Regions from separate parts of the Homo sapiens genome. Here all the other regions are linked to region 1. Evidence: promoter capture Hi-C in 16 types of primary human blood cells and fetal thymus (Javierre and others, 2016). All regions are on one chromosome and are shown on one strand. The core of a region is centred on a gene start or on the middle of the fragment in contact, and the rest is flanking DNA. Distances in the headings are between cores, read along the strand shown. Region 1 holds the start of VWA8 (von Willebrand factor A domain containing 8). Region 2 holds the start of KBTBD7 (kelch repeat and BTB domain containing 7). Region 3 overlaps MTRF1 (mitochondrial translation release factor 1). Region 4 overlaps NAA16 (N-alpha-acetyltransferase 16, NatA auxiliary subunit). Region 5 has its middle 73 kb from the start of NAA16. Region 6 has its middle 47 kb from the start of RGCC.

Region 1 (4,811 bases), core at 1,086-3,585:
TGCCAGAGTAAATGACTGATTTAAAGAAGATAGTATGTTCTCTGTAATATGTCCATGACTCTCACATTTGAAGCAAAGCCTATACTTTGATTTACTGGCTATAACAAAATTTGAGGACATTTACAACTTATCTACCAATACGTATATAATACAGACTTTAAAAACTCACACCCACATGTGTTTTTACAATCAACATGTATTATCCATGTACAAAGAACAATTGTTTTTTAAAAAGTTCAAGTCAATTCACTCGGCTAAATCTGCCTACCCAGATAGTCTGAACAGTCCTGAATCTAAACAAACTTGGTTTCATGTCTTCTAAAGGCAAGGAAACAGAATAATTCTCAAATAGCTAAAACTGTACATACTAAGAATAAAAAAGCTAACTTTTATTGAGCATTAATATGTGCCACAGATTATATTAATTAATAAATCCTCACAACAACCATAATAGATATATTCTTCTTATCCTTTTACAGTTAAGAAAACTAGGACACAAAGTTAAGTAACCTACCCTCAACGACCCATGGTTAGATAGTGGATAAGTGGATTCCAACCCAAATTGTTTAACTCCAAAACCCAACCTATAGTTTATGCTATACTTCCACCTTTGACCTCTGCCTTCTAGGGCAAAGGAGCAAAAAACAAATAAAGAACACACAAAAAATGTAAAAAACAAATGAATAAACAGCCCAGAAGTGAGAGTAATTGAGAAAAAGCAAAAAAAAAAAAAAAAACAAAAAGTAAAATTTGAAATTGCAACACTATGGTGGGGGACGGGGGTGGTGTATGTCTTCAATGAATAAAACGAAATACGTGGGACCTAAATATGCTTTTTTTTTTTTTTTTTTTGAGATGGAGTCTTGCTCTGTCGCCCAGGCCGGAGTGCAGTGGCTCCGGTCACTCCAAGCTCCGCCTCCCGGGTTCACGCCATTCTTCTGCCTCAGCCTCCGGAGTAGCTGGGATTACTGGCGCCCGCCACCACGCCCGGCTAATTTTTCTGTATTTTCTTTTTAGTAGACACGGGGGTTTCACCGTGTTAGCCAGGATGGTCTCGATCTCCTGACCCCGTGATCCGCCCGCCTCAGCCTCCCAAAGTGCTGGGATTACAGGCGTGAGCCACCGCGCCCGGCCCATATGCTCATTTCTTAGCAAGGAAAACTGGGGGTTGCGGGGAAAATGCAAGAGGACAACGAAACCTACAATTTCATAGTGAAAACCTGTTATTCCAAGCAGCACTGACATTGACAAAATCTTGTCTGGAATCACTTCACCATTCAAGGGTAGCAACAACAGATATCCTTTCCTTAACCATCACAGTAACTCTAACTCCACCAACACACAAGAAAAAGAATTCCTAAAACCAGCTCAAGTAGAGCCAAAAAATACTGAGCTTAGAAATCAAAGCATGTGATTCTAGCATAGTAATTAGTTGTGTGTTCTCCAGCGAATCACTTTTCCCTTCTGGGTTTCAATTACCTCATTTGTAGAGGCAAGTGTTTTAACTAAATTAAGGTGTAACTGTCAGCTCTAAGAATTACGTGAAACTTTAAGGAAAACTCCTGTAAAACTTGGAAAGGCTCGGGGATGCATTTAAAACACCGTGAACTATGGGTTCTTTGGCAAGAATGTTCCCTTCTAAGCCGCCACAAGCCCTGGCTAGAACATGACACAGACCGGCTTCCAGGCCCTTGAGGCTCAGAGAGCAAGGTCAAATCCAGCTTTCAATAATTCCATAGGGCTGAGGCATTAACCTCTACGAGTATTATAACCTAAGTCAGAATTCTGGGGGTAAAGGCAGCGGCAGGGGAAGGAGAAATCACTCTTCTAGGTCATCAGAAACCTTAGTCCAGACCCCTCGGGTTGCAGAATCAGGCACAGAGAGGGCGAGCGCCTTGCCCCCACGTTACACAGCAGTTAGCGCCGAGGTCGGGACTAGAACCTCAATCTTTCAGCTCCCCGCTCGGCAAACGGTCCTTCCAAGCGCAGCGAAGCAACAGAGAGGAGGGGCGGGGGCGCGCGGGGACCCGGCACGGAGCGCAGGGGCACCAGGGAGGACAGGGGCGCACCCCGAGTTACCTGTGTCGGCCCCCGAGCCGGCGTGCAACAGTCTGACCTCCGGCCGCTGCCTGTCGCCACCCGGCCTGCGCTGCACCACCTGCCGCAGGAGCAGCCGCATGCGCCGCGAGGCCGGGCCGCCGTGGCCTCCGGGTGCCCCGAGGAGTAGAAGCCGGGATTGCATGGCGCCGGGGGGGCTGTCGGGGACGGCGAGGGGGCTCGGGGATCGAGCGGCGTCCCGTGCAGGCACCGTGAGGCAGCGCGGAGAAGGGGACAGGAAGCGGCACCTAGCCGAGTCCGCCGGAAACTCCTTCCCCCGCGGCGCGGCCGGCTCAGTAGACTCAGCCCGGCCCTACCCGGCCCTGCATGGCCCAGACGGGCGGAAAGAGCCTGCGGAGCTCCAGCCCAAAGAGCCGGCACCGTCCCGGGACTGCCCGCACCGCGGGGGTGCTCCGAGCTGCGGCGCTGGGCTCTGGCAAGCGCCTCGCAGTCCGTGAGACTGTCTGTTCACCTGGATGCACCAGGCCTTCACCCGCCGTTTCCCTGCGATCCCACAGAATCTCAGGAGTTCAGTAAATGCCAAGGGTTTTAGGAGCATTTGTCGGTGTGACTCTTCAGATGCTTGCCCCAAGTCTTCGTTTCTTAGTTAAAGGCCCAGTAAGTATAGGGAGCTTTCCCTGTATTCGGCTTCAGATTTCGGAAATGGAGAAAACATGCACAAGATGATGGGAACTTTCACAACTGTCTTGATTCATTGTAACCACACTAGTGTTTCCAAACCGTACGTGAAAGCTTTACCCTTTGTCCTTTTGGTGGTGGTTGTTTGTTTCTGTGTTTTATTACCGCTTCCTAAATTCTAAGGAAAAAATTCACATCTTAGTGATAGATGGAAATTGCTTAAATATCAGAAAGGATCCAGATCAAGCACTTTTCTAGTCATGCTGTAATACAAAAGTTATATAAAGATGATTTATGTCTTTAGTAAAGGAAAAAGTAGGACACTGGCTAAGGCTGCCTCCCTCTTGTACATTCCAACATCGGAAATGGTCCTACCACAAAGCAAACTAAGCCTAATGTAATTAGACTGCATCCCCAAAATGTCACAGTGAATTGACTAAGGCAAAATATTTGAGACAAGTTATACAAGCAAACATCAAAAAGAAGGCAGAAGACCTCACTTTCAGCTAAAGACCTTGCTAATTCTAGAGCTGCCACTGTCTAAATACATAGCACCTACCCTGCGCCTGACCCTGTGATGAGTGCTGAGAAGAGAGTGTTAGAGTGGAGACTGTAAAAGTCAAACAAGGCTAGGTAAGGAAGGCTTTGGGCATCCAGCGGAAGAACTTGAGGAATGAAGGCTGAACCAGGCTTCTAACCTAGATGAGGAGACAGTGAAAATAAAGGTAATAAGTAGTTACACAATATATTATGACTTCGTTTCATGTGTATCTTCTCATTTAATCCTCATAGCAACCCTAAGACATAAATTTAGGATGTAAGCTTATAAAATGCTTTTCCTACTTTGAGCACATTGTATGTATCAAGATTTTAATGAATTATCCCATTTCACATAAAAATGCTTTGAGGTACTATTATTATCCTCCGTTTTACAGATGAAGAAACTGAGGCTAGAAGAATTGAATACCTTGGTCAAGATATCTCCATTTAATCTCGCTGGAACTCAGTAGACACCTGAAAGAATGGGAGAACAACCTAAGGCAATTTTGCAAAGTGGTTGATATAAGCACTAAGAGCTCTTGGAGTTAAGACAATGGAGAGATCAACACAAGTTAGAGCATTCAACAACATTTTTTGCCTAGTTTTATTTTTTTTAGAGACAAAGTCTCACTCTGTTGCCCAGGCTGGGGTGCAGCGGCAGTATTATAGCTCATTGCAACCTCGAACTCCTGGGCTCGAGTGATCCTCCTGCTTCAGCCTCCCTAGTAGCTGAGACTACAGGCGTGCACCACTGTGCCTGGCTAATTTTTGTGTTTTTGTTTTCGTAGCAGTGGAGTCTTGTTATGTTGCCCAGGCTGGTCTCAAGCTCCTGGCCTCAAGTGATCCTCCTGCCTCAGCCTCCCAACGACAACATTTATTGAGTAACTGCTGTATAAACAGTACCCTGCTAGATACTGTGAATCAATGGGCTCACATTAGGTATTGATGATAAATATGCAAATAAAGAATTGCAATACAGTGAGACACGTGTCAAGAGATTTAGGTTCAACATACTGTGGAGTGGATTGCTGCACCTGGAGTCTTCACAGAGAAGGTAGTGTTTGAAATGATTCATGTAGGATATATTATACAAGAGTTTGTCAGGCTGAGACAAGTCAAATCTGGCAGACAGATCATGTACAGAGAGAGAGAGAAAGAAACAGCTGAAAGTGCAGGGCATGATTGAGAACCAGAGAGTGATTCAGTGTGTCTAGAGGTCAAGTATATACAACAGTTTGTAAGAATAAGACCAGAAAGAGAATCTGGGGCCATGTTGTATGCCAAGAGAAGGAGTTTGCACATTAACCTCCAGGAAATGGAAAAATGGTGAAGGTTTTTTAGAGTGACAAAGCTACAATGGGGAGGAAAACTTTGAGCCTGAGAAAAGGCAGCACCTGAGCTTAACTTTGAATGCCATTTAGGACTGGATACACAGAGAAGCGGGGTATAGAGCCTAAGTAGAGGCTTGGAGTCCTGACAGAGTTCAGTTACAGGGGCCATGAGACCAGCCAGATGAGGAGGTTAATCTTTCGAAA
Region 2 (4,811 bases), core at 1,422-3,921, 770 kb before region 1:
AAGCATACTAACTAATCAAAACAATCCACTGTGCAATGAATATTTGAACAATGAAAAAAACCTACCAAGCATCCTAATCAATTATATAGTTCTTGCTTCCATATTTTAATTCTGGACTTTCAGGATGGTAAATTATTAAACAGGTCGATTTCATGGACTGTCTAAACCTTGTAGTATTTCAAAATATTACCCTTTCTAAACCAAATCTGTGGTCCTAATCAACTTTTTTTCCAAGAAAAAGAAACGATATGTGTTTAAAATACATTCCGTAGCAGTAGAAACATCTTAGTGTCTCAAAATACTATTTACAAAGAACCCTGCTGATCCTGTGCATTTCGCTGAGGTGCTACTTGCACCCAGACTTCATCATCTGAAAAAGAACTTGAACTTCCTGACTCAGAGTCCAGCTCACTGAATCCATCTAAGTCCCATTCAGTACTAGACTCACTCCGTGCATCATCTTCCTCAGTAATAAAACTCTGACCAGGTTCAAGGCAGGAAGGATAAACACGAGCACAAAGGCAAATAAAGCCAGAGTCAAACTGCAAAAGGCCTAACATGGTACCTATATTAATCCACTGATCTTCCCTAGTATCATACTCATACACTGTCACTCGGTTCTTTTTCCATTGTGGGGTTGTAGAAGTGATGAGAAGCAACTTTTGGTCATGATTGACAATCTGGTAGTTGTGGGTCTCTGAATCCAAAGGAATATTACTAATCCGCCTCCATTCTCCCCTAGCTGGGTTGTAGACCTTCATGACTGGGATGTCACAGATACAATAGATTTCATCATTGAAGACACATGCTTCCTGAAAGTCACTACGTTTAAGAGAAGCACAGTTCAGCCACATATTGTGGCTAGGATCATAGCAAAGCATGCGCTTACTGTTGACAGCATAAAGATAGTTCTGAACCACTATGAGTTCAAAGGAATAGAAGGAATGAGGGACAGGAGCCACCAATGCCCACTGGTTTCTCTGAACACTGTAGCATTCCACTTCCTTCAACTTAACTCCAGTAATAGGGTCTCGTCCCCCCAAAATGTAGATGTAGCCATTGAGATATGCCACATCCATGCCCTCACGACACAGCAAGCGATCTGCAAGTTGCTGCCAACTATTCTGAGCTGGTTTATACACCCAGAGGTCTTTCCTGGGCTGAGCAGCTAGATAGATGTCATGGTCTGGGGACACACAGACAGCTGAGGAGGTGACAGTCTTAGTGTGAGCAAAGCTGGTCAAAGGGGATGGCATTGTGTAAATGTCCCCCGAGTAAGGGTCATAGCAGAGAAAGGGATCTCTAGGATGTCCAAAGAAGATCACCATCTCCTTGGCACACATACCCAGTCTCTGGGGTGGATTTTCTGCTGCAGATACAAGAGAGTTGCTGCTGCTACTGCTGCTGCTGCTGTTTGGCACTGGCACCAGAGACTTGTACAACAGGTCACCATAGCGCATCTGCAGGGCCCCTTCAATAACGTCCAGGCAGTACTTCTTCACGATGGGCTTGGTCAGCAGCCCTTCTAAGTAGTCCTGATCTTCTTCAGTGAAGTGCATCCAGCGCACGCACTTGAAGACTTCTGCAGCACTGGGACCCCGCTCTTTGGCAGCAGCCTCCAGCCACTGCACAGCTACATGGCATACAGTCCGCTCACTCTCTATGTCCAGACTATCCAGGCGTAGGACAGCCAGCAGCTGGGCCAGGGTTAGATCTGCTAGAGTCTCCTCCCGAATTGAACCCATTCGGCTGAGCTGCTTGAAGTTGTGAGCTATGTAGGACTGGGCCTGAGATCGAAGCTTGTGATGGTCGAAGGCGTCTGCAAACTTGAGGATGGCGGTGCAGTTGGTCAGGTCAAGACGTCGGGCTAAGAAGGAGGCACAGGCTTCCCGCACATATTCCAGCTGTAGCATGTCGGAGGCCGCGTACAGGCGCTGCACATTGGCCTCACTGAGAGACACACGACCCGTGTAGCAGTAGTCGACCAACACCTCGAAGGACTCGGCGTCCACATCGTGCATGGTCACGCTGGCCTGCTGGCTCTCGTACATGCCACCTGTGAACATGCTCTTGAAGTAGGGACACGCAGCTGCTAGCACGTTGCGATTGCAGGAAAAGAGGCGACCCGTGCCAGGCCCGCTGCCAGGCGTCACCACCTCGATGGTCACATCACACAGCAGCCGCGCGTCGTAGAAGGACTTGAGCTGTGCCAGCAGGGCTGCAGAATGGGCCGTGTCCTTTAACTCCTCTGGACCCGTGAAAAAGGCCGAAACCGAGGGCTTGGAAATCCTCTTGGGCCGCCTCCCACCACGGGGACTGGCGAGGCGGCGAGAGCGCGGGACGTCTTCCCGGGACTGCATGGTGGAGATGGCGACGGGCGCTGACGGCGAGAAAGGCTGCAGGACCAGGCTCTGGCTCCTCCTCAACCTTCCCTCGCTGACGCTAAGACAAGCCGCGTCCTGGAACAGACTGCGGCACGGGCCGCACTTCTGAATTCAGCCCTATCCCGCGGTGAGGCCTCCCTTTATTGCATAGACAGTGGCTGACTCACCCTCTCTCACTCCCGCGCCCTTTCTCCGCCTCCGCTCGCCCTCACAGGACCCGCTGGCTTGCAGCCGCGGAAGCCCCCACTGCCGCGCTGGCGATCCCGCTAGGCGCCCGGGAGAACTACTGCTCCCAGGTTGCCTTTCGCGCCCCGAGGCCTGCTGGGGCTCTCGGACGGCCGGGCGGGGACAGAGGGAAAGAAACCGCTTTGCATGTTGGGAGTAGTAGTTTGTGTAATATCGCGAGCTGTCCTTTAGTTGACTGCTCTAACAGTAGAAATTAATTCTCCTGGATTTGATGGTGAAGAGACTGTTGCCCAGGCTGGTCTTGAACTCCTGAGGGCTCAAATTATCCTCCTGCCTCGGCCTCTCAATGTGCTGGGATTACAGGCGTGAGCCACCGCCCCCTGCCAGTATTTCATAGGGTTTTGTGTGGTTCAATGATACCTTACATGGGATACTTAGATACATGTATGTTTTTGGTTAGAAGAATAGTAAAGCGTTACCCCGTGCCTAGAATGTAGCCAATAACTGTTAGATTCTCTTTTATAATTTATGATAAATGAGGCACCCACTAATTTGAAACCGAGTATTATTTTAAACCGCAAAATTTTACAAAGAATTTCTAGTTTTTAATGTTTATTCCTTCGAAAGATTTTGAAGGGCATTAACAATATTTTCAATATTAAATGATATCTATTGGTCTCGTTTAATAAGGATGTCTTAGACGACTAGGTTGAGGTCCTAAAGAACAGTATTAATAGATGGTCTCAAATACGCAAATCCAGCATATAAAAATAAATTATTTGCTGCTCTCACTAACATTTCATCTCTGGAGAGCAGGAGTATTTTCGTTAAGCTCCAAATATGAGTGTTTTCAAGTCGTCTAATACAGCCTCTTTCACTGCCGTTCCACAAATCAATTAACAGATTATGTAATTCCCTTTATTAAGGAGTTTTAGGGAGTATTTTAACTCAAAATATTTCAACAAACAGACTTTGTTCTGTACAAAAGCACATGATTCTCAGAATTCAACATCAGTACATGCCCTGACATTCCTTGAATTAATATATAGTATAGTCTATGCTTTACAAAGTCTTTTATATTTGCATTGGGATCAACAGTTAAATCATCAAAATCAAGTATTAGAGATTTGAGGCAGGAAAATAGGGTCTGGAGGCAGGGAACATAAGGCTGATTCACACTTTAGCTATAACAGGAAAGATCCTCTCCATAGGGTGTATGCTGAGTAAATGAGTTTGTAACTTTACTTCATTCTCTTCATTTACATAGGGTGTACACCAAGTAACCAGTGGAATCCTCTAGAGGGTATTTAAACCTTCAGAAATTCTGTAACAGGGCCCTTGAGCCCCTATGCTCAGGCCCGCTCCCCACTGTGGAGTGTACTTTCATTTTCAGTAAATCTCTGCTTTTGTTGTTTCATTGTTTCCTTGCTTTGTTTATGTGTTTTGTCCAATTTTTTGTCCAAAACGCCAAGAACCTGGACACCCTCCACCAGTAACAGACTTTTTCAGATAACTTTTATTACAAAACCATGACTGCTCCTGCTGCTAGTTTGTTATGTTACCATAACCTAATAAAGAAAATCATCAGTGTTACATGCATGTATGGATAACACATTACAAGAGAATAACTTTCAAATTGTTTTTCTCTTATCAGCTGAAGATAACTTCAACTTATCAGCTGAAGTCCACTGGAAATACTCTAGGGTAGACACATTAAATTAAGTCAGCCTCTGGGCTCTAATAACTCCTCTGTAAATAAAAAGAGATGTTAGATATCCCTCAGATACACCAGAGAGAATCAAGTCAGTCATTATCAGTAACAATGATTGTTTCCTGACTTGCAGTGAATACCAGCTGGGGAAAAAAGCCTTTTTTTTTTCTTTTTTTTTTTTTTTTTTGAGATGGGGTCTTGCCCTGTCACCCAGGTTGGAGTGCAGTGGCACCATAATAGCTCACTGCTGCCTCAAACTCCAGTGCTCAAGCAATACTTTGCCCTCAGCCTCCCAAGTAACTAGAGCTATAGATGCATACCACCACACCCAGTTAATTAAAAAAAAATTATAGACAGGGTCTCACTGTGTTGCCAGCCTGGTCTGGAAATCTTGGTGTCAAGCACTCTTCCTGCCTGAGCCTCTGAGTTGCTGCAATTACAGGCATGAGCCACATGCCCAGCGCAGGAATGGCCATTTTAAAAAACTTCTTAAAATATTGGTAAAATATACATAACACTAAATTTACCAT
Region 3 (4,811 bases), core at 642-3,141, 700 kb before region 1:
TTAGAAATGATGTAATCCAATCTAATATTATACATGATACAACCAAGGCTGAAAGAAGTTATGCCAATTTAATTAGAATGCATTTCATAAACTTCTACTATACACAAGCAACCTTCTCAAAACTAATTAACTACAAATCTGTGTGGCATTATGCAAAAGAGTAAAAAATATCTCCATTAAACGTACGTAAGAGACTTGTGGTACCATCAATAGAAGGCAGAAAAATGGAAGGCTTCAAAAATCCAGGACTTTACAGGTATAACAGTGACTGGCCTGTGTATCACATAATACTGCTAAGGCTAAATGAAACAAAATGAAGCACAGAAGAAAATCTAGAAACTAAAAGTTAATAGCCAAATCTGGATAAATGTTGAATCATAGGTTAGTTCATTAAACTTTTCTCTCAACTTCTGTATAAAAATTTTCGAAAATTTTCATAAGAGAAAAAATGTAGAGGCAATAGCAGTATTGAGAAATACTAAAATAAAAAACTAAGATAAAAAATAGCCGGTAGTCCCAGCTACTCAGAAGGCTGAGGCAGGAGGATTGTTTGAGCCCCGGAGTTTGAGTGAGGGACCATCTCTTAAAAAAAAAAACAAAAAAAAAAAACATAAAAAATAAATACACCATATACAAAAATAACTAAAATAGATCAAAGACCTAAATGCATGGGATAAAAATAAAAAATACGTCAGTCTTGTAAGAAAACACAGATGTAAACCTTTGTGCCCTTAGATTAGGCAATTTTCTTAGATACGACTCCCAAAACTCAAGCAACAAGAGAAAAAAAGATAAATTGGACATCATCAAAATTTAAAAATATCATGCTTCAAAAGACAGTATCAAAAAAGTGAAGAGAAAACCACAGAATGGGAAATTTTTGCAAATCATATATCTGATCATGGACTTTTACCTAGAAGATAAAGACCACTCACAACTCAATAATGAAAAGACAATTAAATTTAAAAACTGGCAAAGGATCTGAACAGTGATTTCTCCCAAGATGATACACAAATGGCCAAATAAGCACCAGAAAAGATGCTCAACATCATTAATCTTCAGGAAAATGCAAATCAAAACCACAATAACACACCACTTCACATTCATAGGATGGCAATAATTGAAAGGGCGGATAATAAGTGTTGGCAAGTACGTGGAGAAATATGAACCCTCATACACTGTGTGTAGAGCTGTAAAATCGTTATAGTCACTTTGGAAAACAGTCTAGCACTTCCTCAAAAGGTTAAACATAGAGTTACCACATGAACCAGCAATCTATGTCCACAAAACAACTTGTACACAAAAGTTCACAGTATCGTTATTTATAATAACCAAAAAGTGGAAACAACTCAATGTTCATCAACTGATGAATGGATAAATAAAATGTGGTATATCCATACAATGGAATATAATTCAGTAATGAAAAGAAATAAAGTACTGGCTGGGCATGGTGGCTCATGCCTGTAATCCCAGCACATTGGGAGGCCAAGGTGGGTGGATCACTTGAGATCAGGAGTTTGAGACCAGCCTGGCCAACATGGTGAAACCCCGTCTCTACTGAAATACAAAAAAAATTAGCTGGGCATGGTGGCAGGGGCCTGTAGTCCCAGCTACTTGGGAGGCTGAGGCAGGAGAATGGCGTGAACCCGGGAGGCGGAGCTTGCAGTGAGCCGAGATCCCGCCACTGCACTCCAGCCTGGGCGACAGAGCGAGACTCCGTCTCAAAAAAAAAAAAAAAAAAAACATAAAAATAAAAAATAAAAGCTTCCTTCCTGGTTCCACTAATGCGCAGTCCCCTCCAGGAAGATTTACCCAATCAATCCAGGCTGGTTTGAGTGCCCTCTCCTCTTTGCTCCCATGAAACTGTGCCTCCCTCTAGTAGAGCAGGTCTCACATTATAAACAATACTTAAATAAGTTTCTCTCACTGGACCATAGAAGCCCACTGATGGGGTAGGAACTGTATGTGTAGCCCTAGTATGTAGGTACAGTGTTCAATAAAGGTCTGCTCAATAAAATAAAGCTTCTGAAAAGACCAACATTTTGTCTCCCAGACCTTGAGACCACGGGAAGTACCACGAGGAGCCTGTTTACTTAGTACATTGATCTTTAGTAGCTAAAGTGTGTCAAATACTCTGGGTACAGAGTCCTGTTCTTTCCAAGTGTTGAGCTTATTACTTGTAGGTTTTTTTAAAAGACTGAGTTCAGGCCAGCCTCAGTGGCTCGGTGGCTATAATCATATCGCTTTGGAAAGCCCTGGCACAATAGTCCTAGCTACTCAGGATGCTGAAGTGGGGGGCCAGGACTTACAGGTTACAGTGAGCTACGATTGAGTCACTGCACTCCTGCCTGGGCAACAAGTGAGAACCTGCTTCTGTGGGAAAAAAAAAACAAAGACTAAGTTCAATAAAGCTTTAACTTAGAAAATCAAATCTGTACTTACACACACGCATATAAGTGTGTGGTTTTTTTTTTCATAGCCCTTATGCAGGACACATAAGTATCTTTTACCTACTTTTACACATTGATTCTAATTCTTCAATTGCTTGTTCAGTCTCCTGAATTTCTTGGTAAATGGCTGCAAGAGGTGCCAACTCAGCATGCCTTCTGTTCAAGGACCTTCGGTTTTCCTCATTCACAGGGATATGCTGCAGACATTGCTCAAGTGTTTGGTACTCCTTACTCAGGTTCTCCATATATTTCTGTAGTGCTTTATGCTTCCAGAGCATCTTGGTGTCTTGATGGCAATATCTCCTGGACCAATTCTTACTTAACAGATGAAGAATGCAATTCCTGTTTTGTCTAAAAACTTGCAGCCTTGTATCAAGATGTATCTGTCTAAATTGATGAGAATGGAGCTGGATGTGACACTGGAGGTAACCATTAAGAGATGGATGTCTAAAAAGCCAAACACACAGGTGACGATTCATCTCAGCATCTGAAATACAATAAACACAGTCTTTAAAAAAAAATCATCTCTAAAGATACATGCATAATAAACCTGGAAGGAACATCAAGAAATCTTGTTTCATCTACTGCCTCAGCCAGCTCCACAGTCTTAAAATTCAACTGCCGGCTGGCAGCAGTGGCTCACGCCAGTAATCCCAGCACTTTGGGAGGCTGAGGCAGGCGGATCACCTGAGGGCAGGAGTTCGAGACCAGCCCAGCCAACATAGTGAAACACTGTCTCTACTAAAAATACAAAAATTATCCGGGCGTGGTGGCAGGCGCCTGTAATCCCAGCTACTCAGGAGTCTGAGGCAGGAGAATTGCCTGAACCCAGGAGGCAGAGGTTGCAGTGAGCCGAGATCATGCCATTGCACTCCAGCAAGGGGGACAATACCAAGACTTCGTCTCAAAAAAAAAAAAAATTCAGCTGCCTACAGAAAGAACATAATTCTTCAAATGTATGAATAACATATTAAAATAAATAAAAACAGCACTGCTTCCTACCTGTTCAACATATATAATTAACTGAAGCATATGAGTAGGAGTACAACTAACAAATATATCAATTGAATGAGTTAAGTCAGTTATTTTCTAGAAAGTATCTAGAATCTAGAATTGAGTGTGTAAACAAGCTCTTGAAAGCTATGAAAACATACAAACTTAAGGCGGTTCATAAAGTCATTTTCTAAAGTTTGAAGAAAATATTATTATCTTGTATAATTCTTTAACTTTAAGGATCTAGATATCCAAGGAAGTCAAGTAACTTAATCACGACTATTCAGTCGGCTGGATGGAGACAGAGCTGGTATTAGAATGTAAGTTGCCTGTTCAGGACTCAGTAATTTTCACTCTCAATTGTGCAATCACTTTTCAAAAATGCTTCCCGTTTAGCTGAGATCCTAAAGGAAGAAAAGTTCAAGTATTAATAGACCAAGAAAGTAGGGCTGGTGAAAAGCTCTACAGTTATATTAAATGGTGACAATTATATTAAGCAAGAAAGGCAAGGAACAAAATAGAATCTCAATTACATTTAAAAAATATTCTACAATATAAGGTATACATGTAAAAAAAAAAAAGCACATAGAGTATTTTTTAAAAAGAAAGTTAAATAAGAAACATACCAAAATGTGCCGAGCACAGTGGCTCACGCCTGTAATCCTACCACTTTGGGAGGCCGAGGCGGGCAGATCATCTGAGGTCAGGAGTTCGAGACCAGCCTGGCCAACATGGGAAAACCCCATCTCTACTAAAAATACCAAAAAAATTAGCTGAGCGTGATGGCACACACCTGTAGTCCTAGCTGCTCGGGAAGCTGAGGCAGGATAATCGCTTGAACCTGGGAGGCGAAGGTTGCAGTGAACTGAGATCGCACCACTGCAACCAGCGTGGGCGACAAAGCAACACGCTGTCTCAAAAAAAAAAAAAAAAAAAGAAACATACCAAAATGTTAATAAAATGATCTCTAGTTGTGAGATTATGAATACCTTTTGCTTGCTATTTTTTCTACTTTTCAGTGTTTTCCAAGTTTCTTGCACATGTAGCATGGAATACTTTCCTAATCATAAAAAAAGATTAGTTTAAAAAATTACAGGTTAGGTGAAATTGGCTGTGTACAATAATTTTCTGTTCTCCTCCCCTCCAACAGAGATAATCAAGAGCTAACAAAAGTACACAATGGTCTTACTGAGTAAGAAAGGGAGAATATAAAGTGTTCTAAGAAAACTCTAAGGTTCAAAGTTGAAATAAGGGTCAAGCCACGCACAGTAGCATGCACCTATTGTCCCAGCTACCCAGGAGACTGAGGCAGGAGGATCACTTGAGCCAAGGAGTTCAAGGCCAGCCTGGGCAACACAGTGAGACTCA
Region 4 (4,811 bases), core at 1,388-3,887, 600 kb before region 1:
GGCCAGTTTGCAGGCTTATTTTATTGCTTGCTTTTAGGATTATTTGTGTGATGTGCCTTAGTGAGGGGACTTTTCTTTTCCTTTGTGTGAATTTTTGTTTTCCTGTTCTTTGTCATCTCTGAAGCACTCTCCTTCCACATGGACCACAGGAGGAAAAGAGCCGCAAATGCACCCCTGAGGCAGTCCTCAGCAGCCCTCAGTTGTGGGGGCAATCGGCACCACTGTTCCCATCCTGACGCAGTATAGAACCACAGGCATCGTAGTCAGGTGAGCCTGATGTCTGCACCGTGGCAGTCACTTTGGCCTTTTTCCCACGTGAAATTTCTGAGATTACCCACAAGGAAGGCTAAATTTTAGGGGGTGGCTTTTGATGGGGACTGGAACTAGAATTATACCCAAGCATTTTTAGAAATAACCTAATTTTTGCTCTGTTTTTGTTTTTTGTTTGTTTGTTTTTCATGCCCTTTTAAGCCTGGGCTTGATGGCTGTATCTCTGGGGAAAATCCTCCTCATCTTCTCCTTGAAAAATATAAAGCCCTTGGGATGATAGGTGAAATACCCAAGCATTCTAGTTTAAATCAGGCTCTTGTTTCCTTCATAAAACCACAGATCACTAGCTTGTTACACTCCCTAGAGGACCATTATTTTAAGAGCATTCTGCTTGTTATTAAGGAAAGATACATTTTTATTAACTAGGACATTCTCAGTGAGAGGTAAATTGTTTCCCTTATGAAGAGGCTGCTAGGCACTTACGAATTAGTAATTTCAGCAAGACCATAACTAGAAACTTACCAAATTTTCTGTTTAAATGAAATTTGAATATCCTAAGGATCATTATAGTTCTGAACTTCTTGAACTTAAATTCCATTTCTTCTAACATTGATGACTATATTGCTTTGTTTTTTAAAATTTTGAGAATTTTTAGAATATGATAAGTGGATCTTCCATTACTGAGTTTCATTTAGATTATACTTTCCCTTAAATTTTTAGTGATTTTGGCTGAGTTGCATGGAAAAAAATTCTGTAATGTCAGAAAATCTACTGACATAGTTCAAGAAATTAATTGGTAAAAAGCATTTTTGAAGAAAGAAACTACAGGAAAATCATTGGTTGTCACAGATTAAAATGGCAGAAATCATCACCCTCTGGTCATGTTACATAATTATTATCGCTAGAAACTTTAGGGTTTACTATTAACATTTGAGATTAGAAAGAAGTAGAAACATAAACAAGAAAAGAACCTACTCTTATACCAGTTGTAAGCTAGTCTTCAGTGAATATATCTATACTAAAAGCAAATAAGACAACTCTTTTATAGTTATTATGTATATTCTACATGTGTGGTTATATGTAGAAATGTGTTTCGTATAAATAGGGTGACTAGGTTGATGGAATGATTAATGCTTCTTAATTTTTAATATCTAAATTTTCTAATCTAAAATTCTTAATGATATCATTGGAAGGATTTAGGAGTAATTACAAGCTTCAGATTTATTATAATAGGTATCTACATGAGTTACCTTATGCCTGTGTCTTAAATATTTTAATAAGGACACGGACACCTCTCAGAAATAAAACTTTGCAGTTTACCTTCTAAATAGAAGGTTAGTGAATTGCGAAATAAGTTCAAATAAGGGTTAGGTCTTTATTCTGCTTTGAAGAAGTCATTCAAGAGTTCTTTTGTTGAAGGCAGTTTCAGTCAGGATACATACTGCTTTGAGCTCTTAGTAATTGGATTTGAAAAATTAGAATTCTAGAATAAGCTAGTGTAGTATCTTTTCTGTTTTCATCCCCCCCCCATAAGATTTTAGGGTTTATATTTTAAGGTTTTGTAGTCCAACCCAATCTGATGTTTGAAACTTGACTTTTATTAAAACAAACAGAACAACCTTCTTCAAAATATTAGATTTAAACTTGTGTTCAGAATAACATTTTAATCTATTTTATCTTTCAAGAATTGAGTTTTCTTTCTTTCCATTTTTTTCTTTTACTATTAGACTGCTGGTGATTGGATTATCATTATTTTAGAATACTGACTTAGATATGAAACAGGGCAACGATACATATATTTCTAACTCTTTGATAAGACCTAGGACTTCTGATAGATACAAACTATAGGAAGATCATAACTTTATCTTCTATTGTATCTTAATCTTTATCAAATTGATAACATGCTTTATAACAACAGATTCTCTATTAAGTAAATTGAGTTGCTAATTTTCCTAGTTGACCTAGTTATTATTTTTTAAATCCAGAGGTTTTTGTTGCCTTTCTCTGTATAAGCTCTTACTAGTCACATCCGGGAACTCTGAGAGGTAGTGGGAAGGAGAATCTGGTCTAGAAGAGAGGGCCTAATAAGGAGTTCCTTAAAAAAATAAAAACACTACACTCTAAAGCTGTGAACGGCTTTTCTTAATTCTTGCTTAGGGGGAGAGAGTTAAGGGCATGAGCTGTATGTTAAGATTTGAATACGTACTTTTCTGCAGTGAGCTAAGTGATTTTTGTCATGCTCTTCATGTTTGGCCAAAAGGTACAGGGAAACTAACTTTATCTGTTGGTGTTGTGTAGCATATTTTTGTGTTTTACAAATTTAGAGACTAAAAAATCAACCCAAGGGGGAGCTTCTTGGTGATGGAGTAGTTCTGTGTTTCTTAGGGTAGTGGTTACATGAATCTACAAATGATAAATCACATAGAACTATATACACATTGTACCAATGTCAGTTTCTTGGTTTTGATACTGTATTGTAGTTATGTAGGCTGTAACCTTCGGGGGAAACTGAGGGAAGGGTATACAGGACCTTTGCTACTTCCTCTGTATCTATAACCCAAAACAAAAAGTTAAAAAAAAATTCAACCCGAGATTATTTAGTTGTTTCTATATAGTATTCTGCAATACACTGTTTTTTCCAAAAGCAAATATTACAATCAGCTGTAGCTGCAGTATCCCACTTGTTTTTAATTTAGCCATATTCTGTCTATCACCATTAGTTTATTATGGAGTGATTAACAAGCCAGGTTTGCTTGAGGCTGAGTGGGTTCGCAAGACACAGTGCTTTCAGTGGAAAAACTGAGAGAGCCTCTGGCAAACTAGGATAAGTTGGTCACCCAATTTATGGAAGACATTAACTGGAGAGAGGCAGCCTATGGGCTGTTACTGATAAAGAGGTGGCTTAAATATTTGTGGTTACATATGGCCCCCTCCAAGACTTGACTTAAAATCTCTGTCTATTAATGCTGCTAGGAATATCTCTTGAAGTTTGTCATCTGCCTTTTTTCAGATGTTTCTCAACCTAAAAGAATGTCCTGTAATCTCTTAGATGTTTTCATCTGATTATGTGTTCCAGGACTTTTAGCGCCACCATTTTTCCTTAGTTAACTGTATTGAATTTTTAAAATATTCTTGTGCTAGTTATAACTTGATTTACATTAAGAGAAACCACTAACAACTTTATGAAATATGTAATCCTTTGATTTAAAAAAAAAGTTCATGTTAATATTTACGATTTGATTTTATTGGTGGGAAAGATGCAGTTTTCAATTACAACATCATTAAAGCATGGCTTTTTAGTCATAAACTAATGTGAAATGTTCACTTTTCCTGTTTCTTACCCTCCATACTATGTACTTTTATTATAATTTTTGTCTTAAAGTCTCAGGTACTTAATATAATTCTGTATATAGTGTGTTTCTAATTACCAAGCAATTATCAGATGATTATGGACAATTACTAATATGTCCTCTGCGGAGTGACTTAACTATCCCCAGGACAGAGGGAACATGAACTAGTAGGAAAGCTTGATCTATATTGGTGTATTGAATCACTCATTTTTCTATATGATTTTAGAAAAACTAACGTATGAAAAAAGAAGTTGGAGATGGAAATGCATGCAGGGGAACAGTATAAGTATAAGATTGTTTTGTTGGGGGAGGGGCAGAGGGTTAGTGTTCACCTTTCATGGAAGGGATTAGTTCTTAACCTCTTTTGGCCATGGATCCATTGAAAATTGGATGAAAGCTTTGAGCTCTCTCCTTAGGAAGAAGTTTTTATGCTTGTTTATACATAGACTCCAGTTTCAGAACTTCTGCTAAAATGGAATGTAGGTAGAGTAAGAGAAAACAATAAAGTTCTGTATTTATATAACAGTTTACTGTTGAAAATGAACTTTAAAATACATTATTTGATCCTTTAACAACCTTAAGAAATTGGCTGTATGGATTTCTTTATTCTTAACTTAGATTAAATAATTGTCTAGGAAATTAAAAGGCTTATTCAGGGTCGCATCCCTAATAAGAAGCTTATCTCTTGAGTGGGCAAATACTGTGCTTACTGAATGTCTGCTATGTATTAGGCCCTGTGGCAGGCGGTGGGTAAGGATTGCCCTTGAAAATGGTAGAGTTGAGTAGAGCAGTCAGATTTGTAAATATTTAGTGTGAACCTACACATATTTAGTCTTCATTCAGAGCTCTGTTTAACTGTGCCATGCTGGTTTTTAGGGAATATGGAGGAAGAGTATTTCATTAAAACTAAAATATTAATATATACTAACTTTCAGGTTTAAAAAATAACCTGATCTTTTGACTTATATAGAAGTTGAGTATCATCACAAAACATGATTTGTAGGGAATGGGCATGGTTTGTAGGAAGAGAAAGTTCAAGTTGAATGCCAAAAATAATTCATATCCTTTATAGTGTAAAACATTGGAGAGGGCAGCTAAGTGAAAATTGTGACTGTTTAAATTGTTTTTTGGGCTTTTTACAATTTTTTTTTTCTAAAGGTAGACATTATTGACATAAATGTAAAGGTTAAT
Region 5 (4,811 bases), core at 1,589-4,088, 580 kb before region 1:
TCCTCCCTCCTGGGCCTCCCAAAGTGCTGGGCTTACAGGCATGAGCCACCACGCCCGGCCTGCAGTGTGTCTTTTTAAGTTCCTTAATAGGCAGTAGAATGAAAACATTTGGACAGTAAATTTAAGTAACTAAGAAGCTTAGTATAAGAATTACAACGGATTTCAGTGCCTCCTGGCTCCTGTTCTCTGAGAGGATAGTCATGAGATCTGAGTTTTTCTATTGAGGATAGTCTCATTAATAGATTTGGTTAACAGCTTGTTAAAGAAAATTACTTTAATCCCTGATGGTAGGAAAAGCCGACTAGCCCTTTCTTCTTTCCCAGAATGTGTAGATGTTAGTTCTAGAACACAGGTGTCTGTTAATATTTTAGCAGCACTTTGTGACTTTACATCTTTAGGATAGCCATTGTGATAAGTGAAAGTTCTTTATCTTAAAGTAGCTAAAGTGGCTTCATAGCCCCTGAACGGGATCATATATTGGCTTCGGCTCAATCCCAGCCTCTGGGAGCCTGTGAACCTACGGCCATATGATCAACCTACCCTGTAGCTTATTCAGGACTACTCCCCTATCCCTTATCCTCCACCCCCTACTCCTAATCCACCAGGGATCTGTAGGGACTCATACTTCTGGCAGACCTGTGACCATCTCTGAGTTCCACTCAAGGCGTAAGCGCTCTCTGGTTCTCTTTCCTCTCCCATCCTCTCATCCCCATCTGTTGTTTTCTCTTCCTTAGGTCAGCCCCTCTCTATACTCTTTCCTTGTGTTCTTTGCAATTTACCCTCTAAAAATATTCAACTGCATGGCTTTGCCAGATGCAAATTCTTAATCTTCCTTGTACTAAATCTACGTTTTCACAGTTCCATACATCTTCTTTCTCTGCCTTCACCATTTCCGCTTATCTTTTAATTTTAACTGAAAATCGTAACGGATCTCTATCCATTATGCAGCCCTTTCAAGTGGAGACTGTTTATTCTCTCACCATCTCCCTGGAAAGAGCATTCAGAGCATTTCACTCTCCACCATTTCTAGCCCATCACTCTTCCAACATTGTACAAACAAATCCATGCTCCTTTGAGGATAATGCTATTGGGCTGTACTCTTGACATCTCTTTGTTGCTGTCATTTATACACTTCTCTGACTCACAGACTTTCCCTTCTCTCCAATCGTGCTGAAATTCCAGGTGGTTTCAGCATCTATTTGGTGCACCCACTCAACACTCTGGCCTCTCAGTTTCTTGATCTCCCTGGTATCAATACTTTTCATCTCCATCTGTTTTAGTCTGTTTTCTGTTGCTGTAATGGAATACCACAGACTGGGTAATTGATAAGGAAATTATAACCTCACTTCCCATTTAAACAAAAAATAGAAGCCATCAGATACAAATTCTTAATCTTCCCTGTACTAAATCTATAAACTTATTTCTGATTGCAGAATTTTTTCCTCCTTTCATCTTGTCACATTTTTCTTCCCCAAAAGGGTAATTTTCCCTGTGTTCTGAATTTCTTTCCCTCAGGTCTTAGGGTACTTACTTGGCTTGATCACATCCTGTACCATTTGTCTCTGCCTCTCTACTGGTTTCTTTCCATGAGCATTTTAAGCATGTTCAGAAAGGGCATCGTTTTGCAGTTTGTTTTCAAATCTTGCAAGGACATATGTGGGCTAGCAGTTGCCTGCTATTTGGGTGCCCTGTGATGACCACTTATTTAGCTTGATTGTAAGTTCTGTAAGGTCTCCAACCATGTCTGTCTTGAGTATAAATCACAGAGCTCAGCGCAAAATAAATATTCATAAATGTCATTGATGAACACTCACAGTCACTAAGTATTTTCTCTGATCTCTGATTTGCCTTCACCACTGCCCTGTGAAAGAGGTCATATTATCATCCCCATTTTCCATGACAGTCAGCTGATAGGATGTAAGCTTCTCTCAGGGCCACAGTTTCTTAGTACAAAGCAGGATCCAAACCCACTCCTTCTAATTTTGAATTGAGTGTTCCTTCCTCTCTGTCAGATGCTCAGTAATCATGCCGTGTCTTACTCATTTTCCTGGCCTTGTGTGTGTTTAAAGTCTTGTTTCCTCGACAAGAGGTTCTCTTTTTTTTTTTTTTCAATTCCCATTTATTTTTGGCTCTTGGGGCGATGTCATCTTTTCAGTATGAAAAAAAGCAGCAAGTTCAACACAAAATAGAAATCTCAAATGTAGGATAGAACAAAACCAAGTGTGTGGGGGGGGGGAAGCAACAGCAAAAGGAAGAAATGAGATGTTGTGAAAAAGATGGAGGAGGGTTCCCCTCTCCTCTGAGGATTGACTCAAACACTGATGTGGCAGTATACACCATTCCACAGTCAGGGATGTTCCTTCTTTTTAGGGGGTAAGAAAAAGTGGGGATTAAGAGGACATTTCTGGAGGCTTAGGGACCAAGGCTGGACTCTTTCCCCCACTCCTTGATCCCTTTCTCTGATCAGGGGAAAGGAGCTCGAGTGAGGGAGGTAGAGTTGGAAAGGAAAGGATTCCACTTGACAGAGTGGGACAGACACCTCCAAAGAGTAGAGCTTAGAGGGAGATTGAAAGTGGAGATAATACTGCTGACACCTCTCTTGAAGCTGAGATGGGAAATGGACATACTTAGAAATTAGTGACTTTAATAGCCTGGATTTCCCTCTCCAAAACTTTTAGAATGGAAAATCCCATCCCCTTCCTTATATAGTGACTTCTACCCACTGCCTTCTACCATCTTCTACTTTGGGCTTAGGATGGTGGCCATTATCTACATGGGTTTTCAGCACCTGGTTGGTTCTAAATGGCATCTGGATGAGACCCAGCTTCTTGGAGATTTTTAAGAGAGAAATATTAACTGGACAGATGGAAGGAATGGGCACCAGAAGGAAATACAGGGTCACCCAGAATGGCAGAAACCTAGGTTTCCCAGAGTGGAAAGAGAGAGGAGACATTCAACAAACAAGTATTTATTGAGTGCCTACTATGTGCCAGGCACTGTTCTAGACCTCCCCAGAAGAAAAAACAAAAAACAAGATAGAGGCAGCAAACACAAATTCTGAGGGAGAGGAAAGGGGCAGTTGAGTAAGATGGCTAAGGGAACTGAAAAGCCTGAGGTGATGGGGGCTCTGTCATAGGCCTCGTCTTCGGCCTCCTCAACAAAATCCTCCTCCTCTTCTGCGGTGGCATCCTGGTACTCTGATACTCAGAGACGAGGTCGTTCACGTTGCTCTCAGCCTCGGTGAACTCCATCTAGTCCATGCCCTCGCCTGTGTACCAGTGGAGGAAGGCCTTCCTGCCGAACATGGCAGTGAACTGCTCCAAGATGCGCTTGAAGAGCTCCTGGATGGCCGAGCTATTGCCAATGAAGGTGACTGCCATCTTGAGGCCACGAGGTGGGATGTCACAGACAGCTGTCTTGACGTTGTTGGGGATCCATTCCACAAAGTAGCTGCTGTTCTTGTTCTGCACGTTAAGCATCTGCTCATCGACCTCCTTCATGGATATCCGACCATGGAAGACAGCAGCCACGGTGAGGTATCGGCCGTGGCGGGGGTCACAGGCAGCCATCATGTTCTCAAAAAGAGGTTCTCTAAAGGCAGGGTCCAGGCTAAGCTCACAGCAGGTACTCATATTCTTTCCTAGGCTTTTATTTATACTTTTTTTATTTTCCAGTTAACACTTGGTTAGCATATGGTAATTGTTTTTCTGAAACTTTGAAGTGCGTGGTTAGTTCATTATTTCTCCACTGGAGGGCAAGCTTTCCAACTCAAATTTTACTTTTCTGATTCCTTGAGAATGAAAAGAAGGACCGTATGTTGACCAGAGTTGTTGTTTTAATTGTCTCAGGGAAATGAGATTGTTGCTGTGTGTTGGAAGTGTCTGTATTTCCTCCTTGTATAATATATAGATTTCTGATCCAATACATCCTGATCATTGCCTTCTGCAGAGGTTAAAAATCCCAGATACAGCCTTTGCTATGTGTAAAGCCCATGACCTGGCCAATGTGTCTGAGTGCAGTTTTGTGTGGGAGAGGGCCCTGATACAAGAGCGGAAAGAATGGGGACTGGTCGCAGGCAAGTCACACCCTCCCTGGCCCCTTATTCCTCGCCTGTAGCGTGAGGAGGGTTATCTAGGTAACAGCATCCCATGATTCTGGGCCCACAAACCAGAAGGCTCTGAGAGTCAAAGACTGTGTCAGACCCATTTTGATTACCCCACAAGTCCCCACCCTGCCACAGTTCACTGAGCCCTCAAGACAGAACAATCCTGTGACCAGATGTGCAGCTCTTTTCCACACATGAACCAATTCTCCAACACCAGCTGAGTGTCCTACAATTCAACTGAATCCTGACACTGTTTACCTGAAGTCAGCATCCGACCCCGCAGGTGAAGGGCTCAGTCCCACAAGACCATCCCCTCTTCAGATGCAGATCGCAAGTCCAGGCCTCTGCTCCTTCTGACCGACCAGCTATAAATCACGGCTTCCCATGACTCCTTCTTTGGGTTCCATCATTTGCTTGAATGGCTTACAGAACTCAGGGAAATAGTTATATTTCCCATTTATCATAAAGGATATTACAAAAGACACAGATGAAGAGATGCACAGAGTGAATTGTGTGGGAAGGGGCATGAGTTTCCCTGTCATCTCCGGGTGCCTCGCTCAACACTTCCAAGTGTTCAGCAACCTGAGAGCTCTCCAAACCCTGTCATTTTAGGTTTTTATGGAGGCTTCTTTACTAGGCATGATTGATCACATCCTTGGCATTAGTGATTAACTCAACCTTCAGTCCTCCCAGATCCCTGGAGGTG
Region 6 (4,811 bases), core at 994-3,493, 550 kb before region 1:
ACTTTTATTTAAAATTTAAAATTTAATCAATGGGAATTTTAAGTCGACTTTCTCACAGATTTTGGTTTGTTGAAATTTGGTATATTTCTCAGAAATTATATTGGTTTAGGTTTCAAATGGCTGACTTTGACAAACTCATTGTTCTGCCATTATGATATATTCACCTTGTTTGATGTTTTAATTGAAAACACATTACTGCCTTATGAGTATCTCATTACAATGAATCATTTGGAGGTTTTCTTTTCCAGGAGAAGAGGAACCAAGTTAACTCTCTTCTTTGGGCCATTTGGCTGGTTAATCATTTTGGAATACAAAGATTTTGATTGGTTATTATGCAATATGTGTTGATTGACAACTGGATCCCTTTCTACCTTGTTATGAGTGTACAGCTGGTGCTGATTAGATTTCTCTGTTTTTGGTACAGTTTCTGCTTTTCCTGGAATTGTTTCATTAACTTGTGGATTTATATGTGTGTGTGTGTGTTCACTTATTGCTTACACAGATTCCAGAAGAACTATGCTTTATAAGCCAACATGTACTTAAGAGGAGACACAAACCTCCAAATATATTAACATATGTAATAATGTTTTTATAACTACCTTTCTGTAACTTTTATATAGACTCTTCTCTTTTGAGTATCATAATGAACTTACAGGTGCTCACAAACTCATTCAGTTCAATTAGGATACTTTATACTCATTCAATTCCATTAGGATACCAGTTCTCAAAATGTGGACCCTGGATCAGCAGCTGCAGCTTCACCTGGGAACATGTTAGAAATGCAGATTCCTGGGCCCCACTCCAGACCCACAGAATCAGAAACCGGTAGTGGACCCAGCCATGTGTATGTTTTAACCCCTCCAGGGGATTCTGACACTCTCTCAGGTTTGAGAATCACTGATTTCCACTGCATATAAAGATGATGATACTTAAATTGTCATTACATGGCAGATGGAGCCTACCCCAAGTTGCTGTACTCCAGACATTTTCAAAAAACATCTTTGCTTTCTGGAAACAATAGGATATTCCAGTTTCAAAATAATCTTTTTTCCTTCTCTAAGACATTCAATCAGCTGCTACTCTCCAAGGAGTCTTTTTTCCTTTTAGTGAAATTAGAGAACAAATTCCTGGTGCTAGTGATGCTCACATGTATTAGGGATGATCCAAAGAACAGCTGCTGATGTTGGGCCACATTTAATGAGAGCTTAAAGGTTCTGTACTCACACGGACCTCCCCCCTGCATTTAACATAAGTTACCATATTCAACTTTACTTATGGTAGATTTTATTGAATGCTAAGATTTTCTACTACCTTGACAACATAGAGCTTAATATTTCATTGTTTCTTTTTCATGCAAAGTTACCCAAACTCTAAACGTTTAAGAAGTTAGTAAGTTAACTATGTTTCCTTCTCAAAAAGTCATCTTTCTGAAGAGCAAATCAAGAGGATAAACAGCTCATTCAGGAAGCCATGAGGCTAGCTGTAGAATGAGTGGGTTCCTCTCCCCCACTCTAAGCGTGACAGGATGGGGTCATGAGGAGTGCTGCTTCCACAGCCCTGGGACCCCCTGTAGCTGGTCTGTTTCTTATTGAAAACATGATCATTACGCTATTCATATTTCATTGTAATTAGTGTGATCATCTTGAAGTTTTCTCTACCAGAAGAATCTGGAAAAAGATGCTACCTAGCAAGGAATATTGCATTCTTCTACTTCTCCCCACTCACACGATGCTGGCAGTGTGTCAGCCTAGTTTATGTGTGTGTTCATTTAATCATTTCTACCCCATGAGCACCTGTGTTAGAACACAGGGAAGAGTAAAGTAATCACACTGGAATGTACAAAACAGGGCTGTGGGATAGTAGAAGATGGAGACTCCACTGCCTGGTCCTTACAAAGTCATGATTTACTGCTCCATTCCCAGCCTCAACTCCAAACCAAAGCAGATGTTCATCTAAAATAAGCTGTGGGTAGAGCAGATGGGCAGTGTGGAGGTGGGAGCAGACGAGGACAAATAAGGGCCAGGTGAGAATTTGGCCCATTCTGAAGAATTTCAGATTTCTGTATATAATTTTTTTTTTCCTGACAGTGGTGAAAATAATCTCTTGCATTAATAGTCTGTGTCTCACATGTCCGTGTGAAGAGACCACCAAACAGGCTTTGTGTGAGCAACATGGCTGCTTATTTCACCTGGGTGTAGTCAGGCTGAGTCCAAAAAGAGAGTCAGCAAAGGGTGGTGGGATTCTCATTAGTTCTTACAGGTTTTGGAATAGGCGGTGGAGTTAAGAGCAATGTTTTGGGGGCAGGGGGTGGATCTCACAAAGTACATTCTCAAGGGTGGAGAGAATCACAAAGAACCTTCTTAAGGGTAGTGGAGATGGGTGGGGGAGATTACAAAGTACACTGATCAGTTAGGGTGGGGCAGAAACAAATCACAATGGTGGAATGTCATCAGTTAAGGCTATTTTCACTTCTTTTGTGGGTCTTCAGTTGCTTCAGGTCATGTGCATGTATACTTGCAGGTCACTGGGGATATGATGGTTTAGCTTGGGCTCAGAGGCCTGACAGTCTGTTAGCTTTATTGTATTCTAATAGTGTTGGACTATGCATTGGAGCTAGGTGGTCTTTATCTGAGAAAGTTTAATTAACACCATTTATAAAATAACCAAGCACACAAATGAACCATCCTCATTGGTGCGAGGAAGAAATTCGCATTTGCTTTCCACTTAGTCTTACAAAGTCTATCTCCACATTTAGGAGTGTCAGAGACATTAGTACAGAGAAATGCTACTGGAAATGTGGAGAGAAAGAGGAATGTGTAACTTCAGAAGGGAGAGACAGAGTCAAATTTGCCCAAAAAATGATTCCCTGGGTGATCTTCAGAGACTCAATTAACCTCTCTGCATCCGTGTCTTGGTTTACTAGGGGTGGCATAAATTTGCTCTTCCTTAACTCATGAACAACACAGCCCTAAATGTATGAGACAGATTTGTGTTTTTGGAAGACGATGTAAAAAGGCATATTGTATAGTTATTTTTATTTGTGAATACATTTGTAAATACATTTGTAAACGTTGATATTGTACATTTGTGACACACTGATAGTTAATAAAGGATTTTTGCATGTGGCTCTTATTTAAATGTTCCCCAAAGCTAAAGTCACCAGGTTGTTTTCTAATTTTATACGTGAGGAAGCCGAGGCTCAGAAAGGTTGCCCATCCTGGCACACAGCTAGTTTATGGGCCGGGCAAATATCAGAGTCCAGGTCTTCTGACCCTTAGTTCAGAGTGCTCTTACTAGGAACCAACTGCACCTTTACTGTTGCTAATTAGAGAAATGTGTGTGGTGATCATTCACTCATTCATCCGTTCAACAAATGTAAATTAAATACTTACCAAGTGGCAGGCACCAGGGTACAAAAACACCAGTGACACAGATCACAATTTGCCAAACTGGTTTGGGTTGCAAAGGGAGTGCTAGCTTATTTCTAACATTTGAAATACTTTTTTTTTTCCTCTGTCACATTAGGACTAAAAAGGTTTAAGTCCTATTCTCCTTCTTCCCATTGATTATGGGTGTGGCTGAACCACTCAGAAATTCATCACCGGTAACCAAGTGAGTTCAATGGTCTTTGAATGGGTTGCAGGCTGTGGGTGTGGTGTGGTGGGGTGGGGGCAGCATTGCTGGACAGAGCAGAGAGGGCAGGGTAGACCTTGGGCCCGGGGAGTGGATCCTGAGGACACCACTTGTCTTTTTGATTCCCAGATGGTGGCAGCAGAGAATTGTAAAACCCAGCTGTGGGGAAACTCCTGTTTTGAGGCTGTTCAAGAAGTGCTGTGGTTGTTTTGGCTTAAAATCACATTAAAGTGCTTTTCTTAGGCTGGGCGTGGTGGCTCACGCCTATAATCCCAGCACTTTGGGAAGCCGAGGTCAGGAGTTTGAGATACCTGAGTTACCTGAGGTCAGGAGTTTGAGACAAGTCTGGTGAACATGGTGAAACCCCATCTCTACTAAAAATACAAAAAAATTAGCTGGGCATGGTGGCACATGCCTGTAGTCCCAGCTACTTGGGAGGCTGAGGCAGAAGAATCGCTTGAACCCCGGAGGCAGAGGTTGCAGTGAGCCGAGATCACACCACTGCACTTCAGCCTGGGTGCGATAGAGTGAGACTCCATCTAAAAAAAATAATAATAAAGTGCTTTTATTTCTCTAAGCGTTAAGAAGTCGACCAGCCTTTCCACTCTTAAGTATTTACCCAGGAGCAAACAATAGCATCTGCCTGTCCTTGTATTTGTAATAGCTCAAAGTCGAAACAGCCCAAATGTCCATCAGCAGGTGAGTAGATAAACAAATTGTGATATATTCATTCAATGGAATATTATTCTGCAATAAAAAAGGAGTGAACTGTTGATATATACAGCAACATGGAGAAATCTCAAACACTAATTATAGAAAGAGTACATACTGCATGATTCCATTTATATAAAATTCTAAAAATTGCAAATCAATCCATAGTGACAGAGAATGGCTCATCGGTTGCCTGGGAATGGGGAGGGGAAAGGAAAGAGTGAGAAGGGATTAGAGTGGGGAGTTGGTTATGTTCACTACCTTGTGAATGTACCCAATTATGTTTGTTGTAGTCAGTTATATTCACAGAAATCTATAAAAAAAATTACAGATATTTTTCATTCTCTAAAAAGTCCCATCTTCTCAGCCATGTTAGGCTTTCTTTAAGGAGGGCTCTTACCTCTGGAACATTCTGCTTACATTTGTCCCTCATTTATTATAAATCACTGGTGGTCCCTGCTAGGAAG

Evidence for each region. Contacts are between HindIII fragments. The CHiCAGO score rates a contact against its expected background, and 5 or more counts as called.
Region 2: a contact is called between the fragment with the promoter of KBTBD7 here and the fragment with the promoter of VWA8 in region 1, in 7 of 17 cell types (non-activated CD4 T cells, total CD4 T cells, monocytes and 4 more). The highest score is 11.4, in non-activated CD4 T cells.
Region 3: a fragment that was not itself captured here is called in contact with the fragment with the promoter of VWA8 in region 1 in 6 of 17 cell types (total B cells, total CD4 T cells, naive B cells and 3 more); the score reaches 13.9 in total B cells.
Region 4: a contact is called between a fragment that was not itself captured here and the fragment with the promoter of VWA8 in region 1, in 3 of 17 cell types (megakaryocytes, M1 macrophages and erythroblasts). The highest score is 5.9, in megakaryocytes.
Region 5: a contact is called between a fragment that was not itself captured here and the fragment with the promoter of VWA8 in region 1, in 3 of 17 cell types (M1 macrophages, M0 macrophages and M2 macrophages). The highest score is 9.8, in M1 macrophages.
Region 6: a fragment that was not itself captured here is called in contact with the fragment with the promoter of VWA8 in region 1 in 1 of 17 cell types (M0 macrophages); the score reaches 5.8 in M0 macrophages.

Annotation. Positions count from the first base shown.
Region 1 is chr13:41,958,774-41,963,584 of GRCh38, forward strand. It overlaps VWA8 (von Willebrand factor A domain containing 8), which reads right to left and starts at 2,336. Exons shown (of 45, transcript NM_015058.2): 1 at 2,080-2,336. The coding sequence starts at 2,242. VWA8-AS1 (VWA8 antisense RNA 1) reads left to right here and starts at 2,396. Exons shown (of 4, transcript NR_039974.1): 1 at 2,396-3,461. RefSeq lists enhancers at 569-1,069, 1,070-1,570, 1,666-1,805 and a silencer at 2,006-2,415. The HindIII fragment of the contact is 5,183 bases long and covers 1-2,848 here.
Region 2 is chr13:41,191,898-41,196,708 of GRCh38, forward strand. It overlaps KBTBD7 (kelch repeat and BTB domain containing 7), which reads right to left and starts at 2,672. Exons shown (of 1, transcript NM_032138.7): 1 at 1-2,672. The coding sequence starts at 2,360. The coding sequence ends at 306. The region is part of intron 3 of KBTBD6-DT (KBTBD6 divergent transcript); the gene reads left to right. RefSeq lists enhancers at 1,414-2,121, 2,122-2,828, 2,173-2,442, 2,753-2,842. The HindIII fragment of the contact is 3,616 bases long and covers 1,798-4,811 here.
Region 3 is chr13:41,257,979-41,262,789 of GRCh38, forward strand. MTRF1 (mitochondrial translation release factor 1) reads right to left here. Exons shown (of 10, transcript NM_004294.4): 2 at 2,515-2,937. The coding sequence starts at 2,929. Among named protein-coding and RNA genes, the nearest start is that of MTRF1, 3.2 kb to the right of the region's middle. The HindIII fragment of the contact is 258 bases long and covers 1,763-2,020 here.
Region 4 is chr13:41,362,607-41,367,417 of GRCh38, forward strand. All of the region lies in intron 13 of NAA16 (N-alpha-acetyltransferase 16, NatA auxiliary subunit), which reads left to right. Among named protein-coding and RNA genes, the nearest start is that of NAA16, 54 kb to the left of the region's middle. The HindIII fragment of the contact is 2,313 bases long and covers 1,482-3,794 here.
Region 5 is chr13:41,381,579-41,386,389 of GRCh38, forward strand. It overlaps the pseudogene TUBBP2. Among named protein-coding and RNA genes, the nearest start is that of NAA16, 73 kb to the left of the region's middle. The HindIII fragment of the contact is 1,837 bases long and covers 1,921-3,757 here.
Region 6 is chr13:41,407,994-41,412,804 of GRCh38, forward strand. No RefSeq gene overlaps it. Among named protein-coding and RNA genes, the nearest start is that of RGCC, 47 kb to the right of the region's middle. The HindIII fragment of the contact is 7,503 bases long and covers 1-4,811 here.